Linked DNA regions of Homo sapiens: regions 1, 3 and 4 are each linked to region 2. The links are contacts of gene promoters, found by promoter capture Hi-C in human tissues and cell types (Jung and others, 2019). All regions are on one chromosome and are shown on one strand. Each heading gives the region's core, a stretch centred on a gene start or on the middle of the fragment in contact. The rest is flanking DNA. Distances are from core to core; before and after follow the strand shown. Region 1 overlaps DNAL1 (dynein axonemal light chain 1). Region 2 holds the start of FAM161B (FAM161 centrosomal protein B). Region 3 overlaps DNAL1 (dynein axonemal light chain 1). Region 4 overlaps HEATR4 (HEAT repeat containing 4).

What was found. The method cuts DNA at HindIII sites, captures the fragments that hold promoters and counts their contacts. A contact is called where the count stands out against the background at its distance.
Region 1: a fragment that was not itself captured here is called in contact with the fragment with the promoter of FAM161B in region 2 in 1 of the 25 tissues and cell types used here (mesenchymal stem cells).
Region 3: a contact is called between a fragment that was not itself captured here and the fragment with the promoter of FAM161B in region 2, in 1 of the 25 tissues and cell types used here (spleen).
Region 4: a contact is called between a fragment that was not itself captured here and the fragment with the promoter of FAM161B in region 2, in 1 of the 25 tissues and cell types used here (aorta).

Annotation. Positions count from the first base shown.
Region 1 is chr14:73,688,878-73,691,818 of GRCh38, reverse strand. DNAL1 (dynein axonemal light chain 1) reads right to left here. Exons shown (of 8, transcript NM_031427.4): 7 at 2,304-2,444. Among named protein-coding and RNA genes, the nearest start is that of PNMA1, 24 kb to the left of the region's middle. The HindIII fragment of the contact is 3,889 bases long and covers 1-2,941 here.
Region 2 is chr14:73,948,755-73,951,786 of GRCh38, reverse strand. It overlaps FAM161B (FAM161 centrosomal protein B), which reads left to right and starts at 1,693. Exons shown (of 9, transcript NM_152445.3): 1 at 1,693-1,814. The coding sequence starts at 1,761. COQ6 (coenzyme Q6, monooxygenase) reads right to left here and starts at 1,485. Exons shown (of 12, transcript NM_182476.3): 1 at 1,292-1,485. The coding sequence starts at 1,454. RefSeq lists enhancers at 1,727-1,786, 803-1,803. The HindIII fragment of the contact is 12,170 bases long and covers 1-3,032 here.
Region 3 is chr14:73,672,685-73,675,699 of GRCh38, reverse strand. The region is part of intron 5 of DNAL1 (dynein axonemal light chain 1); the gene reads right to left. Among named protein-coding and RNA genes, the nearest start is that of DNAL1, 29 kb to the right of the region's middle. The HindIII fragment of the contact is 8,143 bases long and covers 1-3,015 here.
Region 4 is chr14:73,483,926-73,486,705 of GRCh38, reverse strand. All of the region lies in intron 17 of HEATR4 (HEAT repeat containing 4), which reads left to right. Among named protein-coding and RNA genes, the nearest start is that of RIOX1, 5.6 kb to the left of the region's middle. The HindIII fragment of the contact is 7,136 bases long and covers 1-2,780 here.

The DNA of each region.
Region 1 (2,941 bases), core at 150-2,649, 260 kb after region 2:
GGGAGGCTGAGGCAGGAGAATCGCTTGAACCCGGGAGGCGGAGGTTGCAGTGAGCCAAGATTGCGCCATTGTATTCCAGCCTGGGCAACAGAGCCAGACTCTAAAAAAAAGAATGACAGACTGAATTTCTTAACAGCCCAGCTGAATTGAATTGGGGAGGTAGTGTTCAAAGTCAAAATGAGGTCGATTTATATTGAAATATTTCTTATACACTTGCATTTTGGGATTGAGTTAAAATCTAAAATAATTATAACTCTTTATTTTGTTTCTGAGACAGAGTCTCACTCTGTTGCCCAGGCTGGAGTGCAGTGGCATCATCTTGGCTCACTGCAACCACCGCCTCCCAGGTTCAAGCAATTCTCCTGCCTTAGCCTCCTGAGTAACTGAGATTACAGGCACCCACCACCAGGTCCAGCTAATTTTGTATTTTTACTAGAGACAGGATTTCACCATGTTGGCCAGGCTGGTCTCGAACTCCTGACCTCAAGTGATCCTCCCACCTCGGCCTCCCAAAGTGCTAGGATTACAGGTGTGAGCCACCACACCCAGCTAATAACATATATTTTGAATACTTACTTTATGTTAAGCACAACGTTTAGCGTAGATTATCTCTATGTGTTCATTGTTTCACATAGATTATTTTATTTAATCCTCATAATAATACTCTGATATATGTTCTGAAATGATTACTAATGATACTATTATCATCTCCAGTTTTTAGATTACCAATGAACAAGGTTTGGTGAGATTAATTAATTAGCACAATTTCACAAACTATTAAGTGGAGGAGCTGGGACTTGACTCAGTTAATTAGGGTTATCTACTGATGCTGACACTGATCTTAAGATATTGGGAAACTAAGACTGGGGATGAGGGGAGAAACAGAGAGAATACCACAATTTTGATCCAATTGTAAAAAAGCAACTGCTTACCATGTATTTCTAATTATTCTGCAGAATCAGAATAATTTTTGATTCTGATCAAAATTTGTGACCTTTGTGTTACCTTTCTGACTTGAGAATAAGCCTAACTTTCTTTATTTTTTAAACTTGCTTAAATGAGCTAGAAGTTTATTTTTCTTTTACATAAAAGTACAAGTAGATAGTAGATAGACATGGAACTTTATGTTGTCTGGAAGTCAGGATCCTTCTCTTTTTTTTTTTTTTGAGACGGAGTTTCGCTCTTGTTGCCTAGGCTGGAGTGTAGTGGCACAATCATGGCTCACCACAACCTCCGCCTCCCGGATTCAAGCGATTCTCCTGCCTCAGCCTCCCGAGTAGATGGGGTTACAGGCATGCACCACCACATCCGGCTAATTTTGTATTTTTAGTAGAGATGGGGTTTCTCCATGTTGGTCAGGCTGGTCTCGAACTCCCAACCTCAGGTGATCTGCCCGCCTTGGCCTCCCCAAGTGCTAGGATTACAGGCATGAGCCACCGCACCTGGCCAGGCTCCTTCTCTCTTACTGCTTGCATGGGTGTCCTCCTTGTGATACAGGGAAGAGTGAGAAAAGGAGGAGGCTCAGCACCAAACCCTGAATAATTCCAGCTTTAATCCAACATAGCAGAAGGAAATTTATATCAGGAAAAAATAAATATACAATTTTTTAAAAATAAATACAGGGTTTTTCTCACTATATTGCAAAGGCTGGTCTCAAACTCCTGACCTCAAGCAATCTTCTTGCCTCATTGAATAGCTTGACTACAGAAACGTGCCACTGTGACTGGCTCCATGTAGATTTATAAGGCCTAGCTTTCTTTTCTTTTCTTTTTTTTTTTTTTGAGACGGAATTTCACTCTTTTTTGCCCAGGCTGGAGTGCAATGGCACAATCTCAGCTCACTGCAACCTCCGCCTGCCGAGTTCAAGTGATTCTCCTGCCTCAGCCTCCCGAGTAGCTGGGATTACAGGTGCCCGCCACCACGCCTGGCTAATTTTTATATTTTTAGTAGAGATGGGGTTTCACCATGTTGGCCAGGCTGGTCTCAGACTCCTGACCTTCGGTGATCCACCCGCCTCAGCCTCCCAAAGTGCTAGGATTACAGGCGTGAGCCACCCATGCCCGGCCAGGCCTAGCTTTCTTATAAGCTTTTGGTCTAGGGAGAATCTTGTACCAGTCTAAATATCCTAGCAGTTTTTCATCTCACCTTGGCTCAAACCTAGACCATTCAATTTTACATAGATAGAAATGACCTGGAAGATCAGAGGTATTTTTTCTTTAGTTTTTCTCCTCTTCATGATTCCATGCCACAAATTCCATTTTTATGCCTAGAAGATATGTCTAAGCCAGCTCAGAATCACTCACCATCCAGCTTTTTCAGTTTGGGCACTCTCTTGGTTGCTTCTTCAATCCAGTTATTCTCAGCAGAATGTTTCTCTTCCAAGGGATTGCCTACAAACACCAGGTCTTCGAGGCATGGCAGTTCTGCCAGCTTCACAAACTCAGCTACAAGTAAAAGAATATTTTCCATATTAAAACACTAAGTTTTGGCCGGGTGCGGTGGTCCACGCCTGTAATCCCAGAACTTTGGGGGGACAAGGCGGGCGGATCACGACATCAGGAGATCGAGACCATCCTGGCTAACACAGTGAAACCCCATCTCTACTAAAAATACAAAAATAAGCCAGGCATAGTGGTGGGCACCTGTAGTCCCAGCTACTCAGGAGGCTGAGGCAGGAGAACTGCTTGAACCCGGGAGACGGAGGTTGCAGTGAGCAGAGATTGCACCAATGCACTCCAGACTGAGCGACAGAGCACGACTCTGTCTCAAAAAAAAAAAAAAAAAAAAAAAAACAGCAAGTTTTACTGTTACAATTTTGGGGATTAAATTCCAATATCATTAACCCTCAGTTTGTGACTATTCATGACAATCAGTTGTTTAAGATTTTGAAGGAAGCTAGGAAAGTTATACCATATAAAGTCATTCTCAGAAGACAGTACAG
Region 2 (3,032 bases), core at 444-2,943:
AGGGTGGAACAGCTGCCCTTAGATCAGGGTGTCCAATCTTTTGGCTTCCCCAGGCCACAGTGGAAGAATTGTCTTGGGTCACATATAAAAAAACACTAATATTAATGATAGCTGATGAGCTAAAAAAAAAAAAAAAATCACAAAAAAAAAATCTCATAATGGGCCAAGCATGGTGATTCATGCCTGTAATCCCAGCACTTTGGGAGGAAGGGGCAGGTGGATCACGAGATCAGGAGTTCGAGACCAGCCTGGCCAATATGGTGAAACCCCGTCTCTACTAAAAATACAAAAATTAGCCAGGCATGGTGGCACAAGCCTGTAATCCCAGAGGTTGCAGTGAGCTGAGATCGTGCCATTGTACTCCATCCTGGGCAACAAGAGCGAAACTCCATCTCAGGGAAAAAAAAAAAAGTGAAAAGACTACAAAATGGAAGAAAATATTTGCAAGTCATTTATCAGATAAGGGACTTATACAGAATAAACAAAATAATGGCCAGGCAGGGTTGCTTATGCCGGTAATCCCAGCACTTTGGGAGGCTGAGGCAGGTGGATTGCTTGAGCCCAGAAGTTCCAGACCAGCCTGGGCAACATAGTGAGACCTCGTCTCTACAAAAAAATACAAAAATCAGCCGAGTGGTGGCGCATTCCTGCAGTCCCAGCTATTTGGGAGGCAGAGGCAGGAGGATCAATTCAGCCAGGGAGGTTGAGGCTACAGTGAGCCGTGATCGTGCCACTGCACTGCAGCCTGGGCACAGCGGAAGACCCTGTCTCAAAAAATAAAAATAACTCTTACCACAGTATTCAAGAGACAAACTGCTCAATTAAAAACCGGGCAAAGGGTCTGAATAGGCATTTCTCTAAAGAAGATATACAAATGACCAATAAACATATGAAAGGATATTCAACATCATTAATCATTAGGGAAATACAAGTCAAAACCTGGAGATCCCACTTTACTTACACCCACTAGAATGTCTATAAACAAAAAGACAATGACAAGTACTGTCCAGGATCTGGAGAAACTGGAACTCTCATTTATAAATAACCCCGGGAAGGCCTGTTTTCCCATGAGTAGAACAGACTCTGAACGCCCCTCCCACTTTTGACCCTAATGGACCCTGAAGGACCACACGCATTCCGGCGTGCCCTGGGGTTCCTCTAGGAGGGGAGGGGAGAAGCGTCGCGAGACCTGAGAAATTGTCTTTGGGCAAGTCGTGCTAGGGCTCTCACGGCTCTCATCGTGCCTCCGCGGCCCGGTTTCCGGCCACTAGTAGCCTGGAGAAGGGCTTACCCAAGGCACAGGCCATGGCAGCGCCCACCAGGCCTCCACCCGACACCACCACGTCATACACGGTGTCTGTTGAGGCGCCGGACCACCTGCGCCAGGACACCAGCGGGCCGCTGTGGGGAGCTGCACGCACAGCCCCGCATCGGCTGACAAGCCGGGCCGCCATGGTGCAGACCTGCGCCGTCGCACTCAGAACTCCCGCAGGCCCACCTACGTAGTGCGTCCGGAGCAGAGCACTCCAATCCCGTCCCGCTTCCGCGGCGTCCTCAGAACCGGAAATAAAATGCGCGGAGAAAATAGGCCAATCGGAAAACGAACCTTGCCTCCTCGGGCGGGATGGATCGGAGGCTGCCCTGGAAGCCAACCAGACGCCAAAGCTAGAAAGGGGTGGACCCTGGCCCCGCATAGCTCTCGCTGCCACCGCTGCTGCCACTATCGCTGTCACTGTCGCTGCTGCCTCTGTCCAGCTGAAATGACCGTGGGGAGGCCTGAGGGAGCCCCCGGAGGCGCGGAGGGGAGCCGTCAGGTGAGGAGAGAAAAGAGACTGCCCCCGGGAAAGGAATCCCGGAGAGGAAACTGTTGGGCGTTGCCTTGGAGACAGACAGCAGGGGCGTGTCACGGAGGGGCGTGGGATTAAAATGAGCGTTTAGGGACCAGGAGGCGGACTCTGACTTACAGACCTGAACCTCTCGGACTTTATACGAGGCTCTTGATAGGCAATGTCACTCAGTTTTCGCTTATCCTCTTAGTACTCTATGACCAGTAGTACAATTGTCGTCTCATTTTTGTAGAAGAGAAAACTGAGGCACAAAGAGATTAAGAAAATTGCTCCCCAAATTTGGCCGGGCGTGGTGGTTCACGCCTGTAATCCTAGCACTTTGGGAGGCCGAGGCGGGTGGATCACCTGAGGTCAGGAGTTCGAGACCAGCCTGGCCAACATGGTGAAACTCCGTCTAAAAATTTAAAAAAAAAAAAAAAATTGGCCAGGCGCGCTGGCTCACGCCTGTAATCCCAGCACTTTGGGAGGCCAAGGAAAGCGGATCATGAGGTCAAGAGATCGAGACCAGGCTGGTTTCCATGGCAAAACCCCGTCTCTACTAAAAATACAAAAATTGGCCGGGTGCGGTGGCTTACTCCTGTAATGCAGCACTTTGGGACCTGAGGTCAGGAGTTCAAGACCAGCCTGACCAACATGGAGAAACCCTGTCTCTACTAAAAAAAATACAAAATTAGCTGGACGTGGTGGCACATGCCTGTAATCCCAGCTACTCGGGAGGCTGAGGCAAGAGAATTGCTTGAACCTGGGAGGTGGAGGTTGCAGTGAGCCGAGATTGTGCCATTGCACTCCAGCCTGGGCAACAAGAGCAAAACTCTCTCAAAAACAAAAACAAACAAACAAAAAAATACAAAAAATTATCTGGGCATGGTGGTGCGCGCCTGTAGTCCTAGCTACTCGGGAGGCTGAGGCAGGAGAATCACTTGAACCCGGGAGGTGGAGGTTGCAGTGAGCCAAGATTGCACCACTGCACTCTAGCCTGGCGACAGAGCGAGACTCCGTCTCAAAAAAAAAAAAAAATTAGCCAGGTGTGGTGGCGCGTGCCTCCAGTGATCCACCAGCCAAGGCCTCCCAAAGTGCTGGGATTACAGGCGTGAGCCAGTGCACCTGGTGGACCCCAAACTATTAAAGGCAAAAAGTAGATTGGCAGTTGCTTAGGGCTGGTGGGGTGGGGTGTGGAGGGTTAGG
Region 3 (3,015 bases), core at 427-2,926, 280 kb after region 2:
AACATGTTGAGTCACTGAATAAACACTTACAGAGTGTCTACTATATATATCAAGCACTATTGTAGATGCTAATTAACAAAACTGAAATGGCCAGGCCCTCACAGTGGCTCACGCCTGTAATTCTGGCACTTTGGGAGGATGAGGCAAGAGGATCACTTGAGGCCAGGAGTTCAAGACCAGCCTGTACAACATAGTAAGACTCCATCACTACAAAAAAAAAATTTTTTTTTTAATTAGCTGGGCAAGGTGGTGCACACCTGTAATCCCAGCTATCCACCTGTAGTGCCAGCTTCTTAGGAGGCTGAGGAGCAAGGATTGCTGGAGCCCAGGAGTTCAAGATTATAGTAAACTATACTAGTCCGAGATTACAGTGAGCTGTAATCATGCCACTGCACTCCAGCCTGGGTGAGAGAGTGAGAACCTGTCTCTAAGCAAACAAAAATCAAAACTGAATGGTCATTAGGATTTGTGTGTGTGTGTGTGTGTGTTTGTGTGTGAGAGAGAGAGAGAGAGAACAAGAACAAGAATTTCAGGTAATAATGAGTAACATGAAAAAATAAAATTACAACTGGTAGGAGTTACTCAGCCAGGCGTGGTGGCTCAGGCTTGTAATCCTAGCACTTTGGGAGGTTGAGGCAGGTGGATTGCTTGAGCCCAGGAGTTCAAGACCAGCCTGGGCAACATGGCGAGACCCCTACTAAAAATACAAAAAAATTAGCTGAGTGTGATGAGGTGTGTCTTTAGTCACAGCTACTTGGGAGGCTGAAGCGGGAGGACTGCTTGAGCCCAGGAGACACTCCAGCCTGGGCGACACAGTGAGACCCTGGCTCAAAAAAATAGTTACTCCACCAGGCATGGTGGCTCACGCCTGTAATTCCAGCACTTTGGAATTACTCAGCTCAGGCTGAGGCCAGAGTATTGCTTAAGCCCAGGAGTTTGAGATCAGCCTGGGCAACATAGTGGGACCCTGTCTTTACAAAAAATTAAAATATTAGCTTGGTATGATGGCACACACCTGTGGCCCCAGCTACTCAGGAGGCTGAGGTGGGAGGATGGCCTGAGCCCAGGAGGTCAAGGTTGCAATGAGCTGTGATTGTACTACTGCACTCTAGCCTGGGTGACAGAGTGAGACCTCGTCTAAAACAAAAAGAATTAGTGCTTAGAGAGCTGCTTTAGATATACGGTGATTGGGTCACCTTTGAGGAGGCAACATCTGAGCTGAGGTGTAAAGATCAAGAAGGAGCCCACATCGTGATTGGGTCACCTTTGAGGAAGCAACATCTGAGCTGAGGTGTAAAGATCAAGAAGGAGCCCACATCGTGATTGGGTCACCTTTGAGGAGGTGACATCTGAGCTGAAGTGTGAGGGTTAAGAAGGGGTCCGCATTGTGGAAATCCATGGCAATAGAGTTTTTAAGACAGAGGGAACAGCCAAGTATAAAGATTCTCAGGTGGGAATGAATTGTGCATGGTCAAGGAACAGAAAGAAGGCCAGTCACTAGAGATTATCAACTAGGAGAAGAGAAACATGAAATGAGATCAGAAAGGAAGGCAAAGGCCAGATCATATATACAAATGGGTTTATAATGTACCTCAATAGTTTTCCTGAATAGTTATAAATCAACCCCTTTCCTTCAACTTAACATTCCATGTTTCACACATTACAGTAATCATTTTTAATTTACTGAGACAGCTATTTAAATCATGCTATGAGGCAGATGTGTCTAGATGAATAAGTCATCTAGTATGTGAACATATTAGAAACCCAGTATCTGCATCCCAATGCAGCTTTCTTTTTCTTTCCTTTTTTTTTTCCCCTCTGTCACCCAGACTGCATTGCTATGGCACAATCATAGTTCACTGTAAACTCAAACTCCTAGGCTCAAGCAATCAATCCTTCCACCTCAGCCTCCCCGAGTAGCTGGGACTATAGGCATGTACCACCATGCCTGGCTAATTTCTTTTTAAATTTTCAGTAGAGACGAAGTCTTGCTATGTTGCCCAGGTAAACTCCTGGCCTCAAGGGATCCTCCCACCTTGGCCTTCTAAGTGCCAGATTACCGGCATGAACCACTGTGCCCAGCCATAGCTTTGTTTTTCTTTATTCTGCAAATAAGCAATAAAGCTTTTGGACAAAACCCCACATTACACCCTGGAAAGAAAAACAACTATTGGCTATCATTGATAGGAGTGTATAAAAAGTGACGATATCTAAAACAAGTGATAGTTCAGCCAGATAGCATCTTAATACACAATACATACCTTTAATCCTATATTTATAATTTATTTGTGGTCTCTGGGTATTTATTACATTTTATGGAATAAATTACATGCTATAGTAATACTTGAGAATTTGGGATTCTATAAGGGATTCTATAAATACCTGGGGGAACATCAAGTATATTGACACTAAAAGTTCTGGAGTACATTTATCTGCAAACTATTTCTTTATAGATAACTCAAAGTTACATTTAGCCTGAAATATAATAATTCTGAATTTCTGTATTACAATTTAATATTTTACGCTTTATGCACAATGTCTCTATATTTGAAATTTTTCCATCTAAGGCTCAGAAACTGGACAGAAGGCTAAATATCCTTAAACTTACCAATTTATTTAGAACATCACAAATATCAAATTTTGCCCAGGTGTGGTGGCTCACGCCTGTAATCCCAGCACTTTGGGAGGCCGAGGCAGGCGGATCATGAGGTCAGGAGATCGAGACCATCCTGGCTACTACGGTGAAACCCCATCTCTATTAAAAAAATACAAAAAAATTAGCCAGGTGTGGTGGTGGGCGCCTGTAGTCCCAGCTACTCGGGAGGCTGAGGCAGGAGAATGGCATGAACCCGGGAGGCGGAGGTTGCAGTGAGCTGATATTATGTCACTGCACCCTAGCCTGGGTGACAGGGCAAGACTCCGTCTCAAAAAAAAAAAAAATCAAATTTTTACAGATCATTAAGAATTTTACTCACCATATCCAATTAGAAAACAAATAATTCATCTGATGGTTAT
Region 4 (2,780 bases), core at 197-2,696, 460 kb after region 2:
TTTTTTTCAAGACAGAGTCTCACTCTGTTGCCCAGGCTGGAGTGCAATGGCACGATCTCGGCTCACTGCAATCTCCGCCTCCTGGGTTCAAGCAATTCTCCTGTCTCCACCTCCCAAGTAGCTGGGATTACAGGCGCAGGCCACCACACCCGGCTAATTTTTGTATTTTCACTAGAGACGGGGTTTCGCCATGTTGGTCAAGCTGGTCTTGAACTCCTGGACTCAGGCAAGCCACCTGCCTCAGTCTCCCAAAGTGCTGGAATTACGGGCGTGAGCCACCACACCCAGCCTCATAAGTTCTTTTCTTTAAGAAGGAAGGATAGCATGAGTTGTTGAAAGGGAGATGGTGAGAAAGAGAAATAAAAGGAAAGTAAAAGAAAGCAAATGTCCGAGGCAGTGGTTCTGAACCTGGGGCTATTTTGCACCCCCAGGGGTCATTTAGCAATATCTAGAGATATTTTTGGTTGTCCAACAGTGGGGGTGCTACTAGCATTGAGGGATGCTGTAAAACATTCTACAATGTACAATGAAACCCCATAACCAAGGAGTATCTGGGCCCAAATGTCAATAGTACCAGGATTGAGAAACCCTGGTAAAAACTTTTAGATGACAATTCATCAATACAAAATTTTGATATCTTTGACCCAGTAGTAATTCTACATCTAGAAATCTATCCTTAAAAAATATTCACTGGCCAGGTGCAGTGGCTAACACCGATAATCCCAACACTTTGGTAGGCTGAGGCAGGTGGATTGCTTGAACTCAAGAGTTCCAGACCAGCCTGAGCAACATGGTGAGACGCTGTTGCTATGAAAAATCAGCATTTTTTTTTTTTTTGAGACAGAGTCTTGCTTTGTCACCTAGCCTGAAATGCAGTGGCGTGATCTTGGCTCACTGCAACCTCCACCTGCCAGGTTCAAGCGATTCTTGTGCCTCACCTGAGTAGCTTGGATTACAGGCATGTGCCACGATGCCCAACTAATTTTTGTATTTTTAGTTGAGATGGAGTTTTGCCATGTTGGCCAGGCTGGTCTTGAACTCCTTGCCCTAAGTGATCCAACTGCCTTGGCCTCCCAAAGTGCTGGGATTACAGGAATGAGCTGCCATGCCAAGCCGAAAAATTTTAAATACAAAAATTAGCCAGGCATGGTGATGTACACCTGTGGTCCCAGCTACTAGGGAGGCTAAGGTGGGAGGATGGCTTGAGCCTGGGATGCAGAGGTTGCAGTGAGCTGAGATGGCGCCACTGCACTCCAGCCTGGGCAATAGAGCCAAACCCTGTCTCGAAAAAAAAAAAAAAAATTCACCCATGTGTACAAAGATATTTACACATAGATGGTTGTTGCTTTTAATTTCAAAACTGGAAATTACTCAAATATCTACCAATCAATAGTTATTTAAAGGAATGACAAGGAAATGTCTATAACGTGTTAAAAAATCAAATTATAGAACAATATGTTGTCCCATTTTTTGCTTAAAAAATGCAGCCAATATACATTATATATAATTTTCTTTTCTTTTCTTTATTCTTTTTTCTTTTTTGAGACAGAGTTTCCCTCTGTCACCCAGGCTGGAGTGCAGTGGTGCAATCTCGGCTCACTGCATCCTCCACCTCCCAGGTTCAAGCGATTCTCCTGCTTCAGCCTCCCAAGTAGTTGGGATTACAGGCGCTTGCCACCATGCCCAGCCAATTTTTCTATTTTTAGTAGTGACAAGGTTTCACCATATTGGCTAAGCTGGTCTCAAACTGCTGACCTCAGGTGATCCACCTGCCTCAGCCTTCCAAAGTGCTGGGATTACAGGCATGAGCCTACATTATGTAAAATTTATTTAAAACCATATATGTGTGTGTGTGTGTGTGTGTGTGTGTGTCTGTGTGTGTGTGTGTGTGTGTCTGCCTGCATAGTTGAATATCTGGAAAGATATAAACCAAACTGAAGACAGAAAGAAGTTCCCTCTGGGCAATGGGATTATTTGTTATAGAAGAATTTTCATGTTTAACTTTAGGATGTTAATATAAAGTTTAGGCTGGGTGTGGTGGCTCATGCCTGTAATCCCAGCACTTTGGGAGGCTGAGGCGGGAGGATCACTTGGGGCCAGGAGTTCGAGACCAGCCTGGCCAACATAGTGAAACCCCGTCTCTACTAAAAAATACAAAAATTAGCCGGGTGTGGTGGCATGTGCCTATAATCCCAGCTACTCAGGTGGCTGAGGCACCAGAATTGCTTGAATGCGGGAGACAGAGGTTGCAGTGAGCCAGGATCGCGCCACTGCACTCCAGCCTGGGCAACAGGGCAAGACTCCCTCTCAATGACAAACAAACAAACAAACAAAAAACCACAGTTTGAATAGGCCATCTGGCCCCAAAAGCCTGAAATATCTACTATCTGGCCTTTTACAGAACAAATTGGCTGAGTCTTGCTATACGTCGTAACAGATGCTATCTAGGATGTTGAATTTCCAACTCTTTTGCTTGCTCATATAACCTATAAAATAATTTTGAAAAATGATGTCACCTCTTTACCTTCTTAAATTGACATCTAAAATGAGGCCAGGCATGATGGCTCACGCCTGCAATCCCAGCACTTTGGGAGGCAGAGGCAAGTGGATCACCTGAGGTCGGGAGTTTGAGACCAGCCTGGCCAACATGGTAAAACCCCGTCTCTACTGAAAATAAAGAAAAATTAGCCAGGTATGGTGGTGCATGCCTGTAATCCCAGCTACTCGGGAGGCTGAGACAGGATAATCGCTTGAACCTGAGAGGCGGAGGTTGCAGTGAG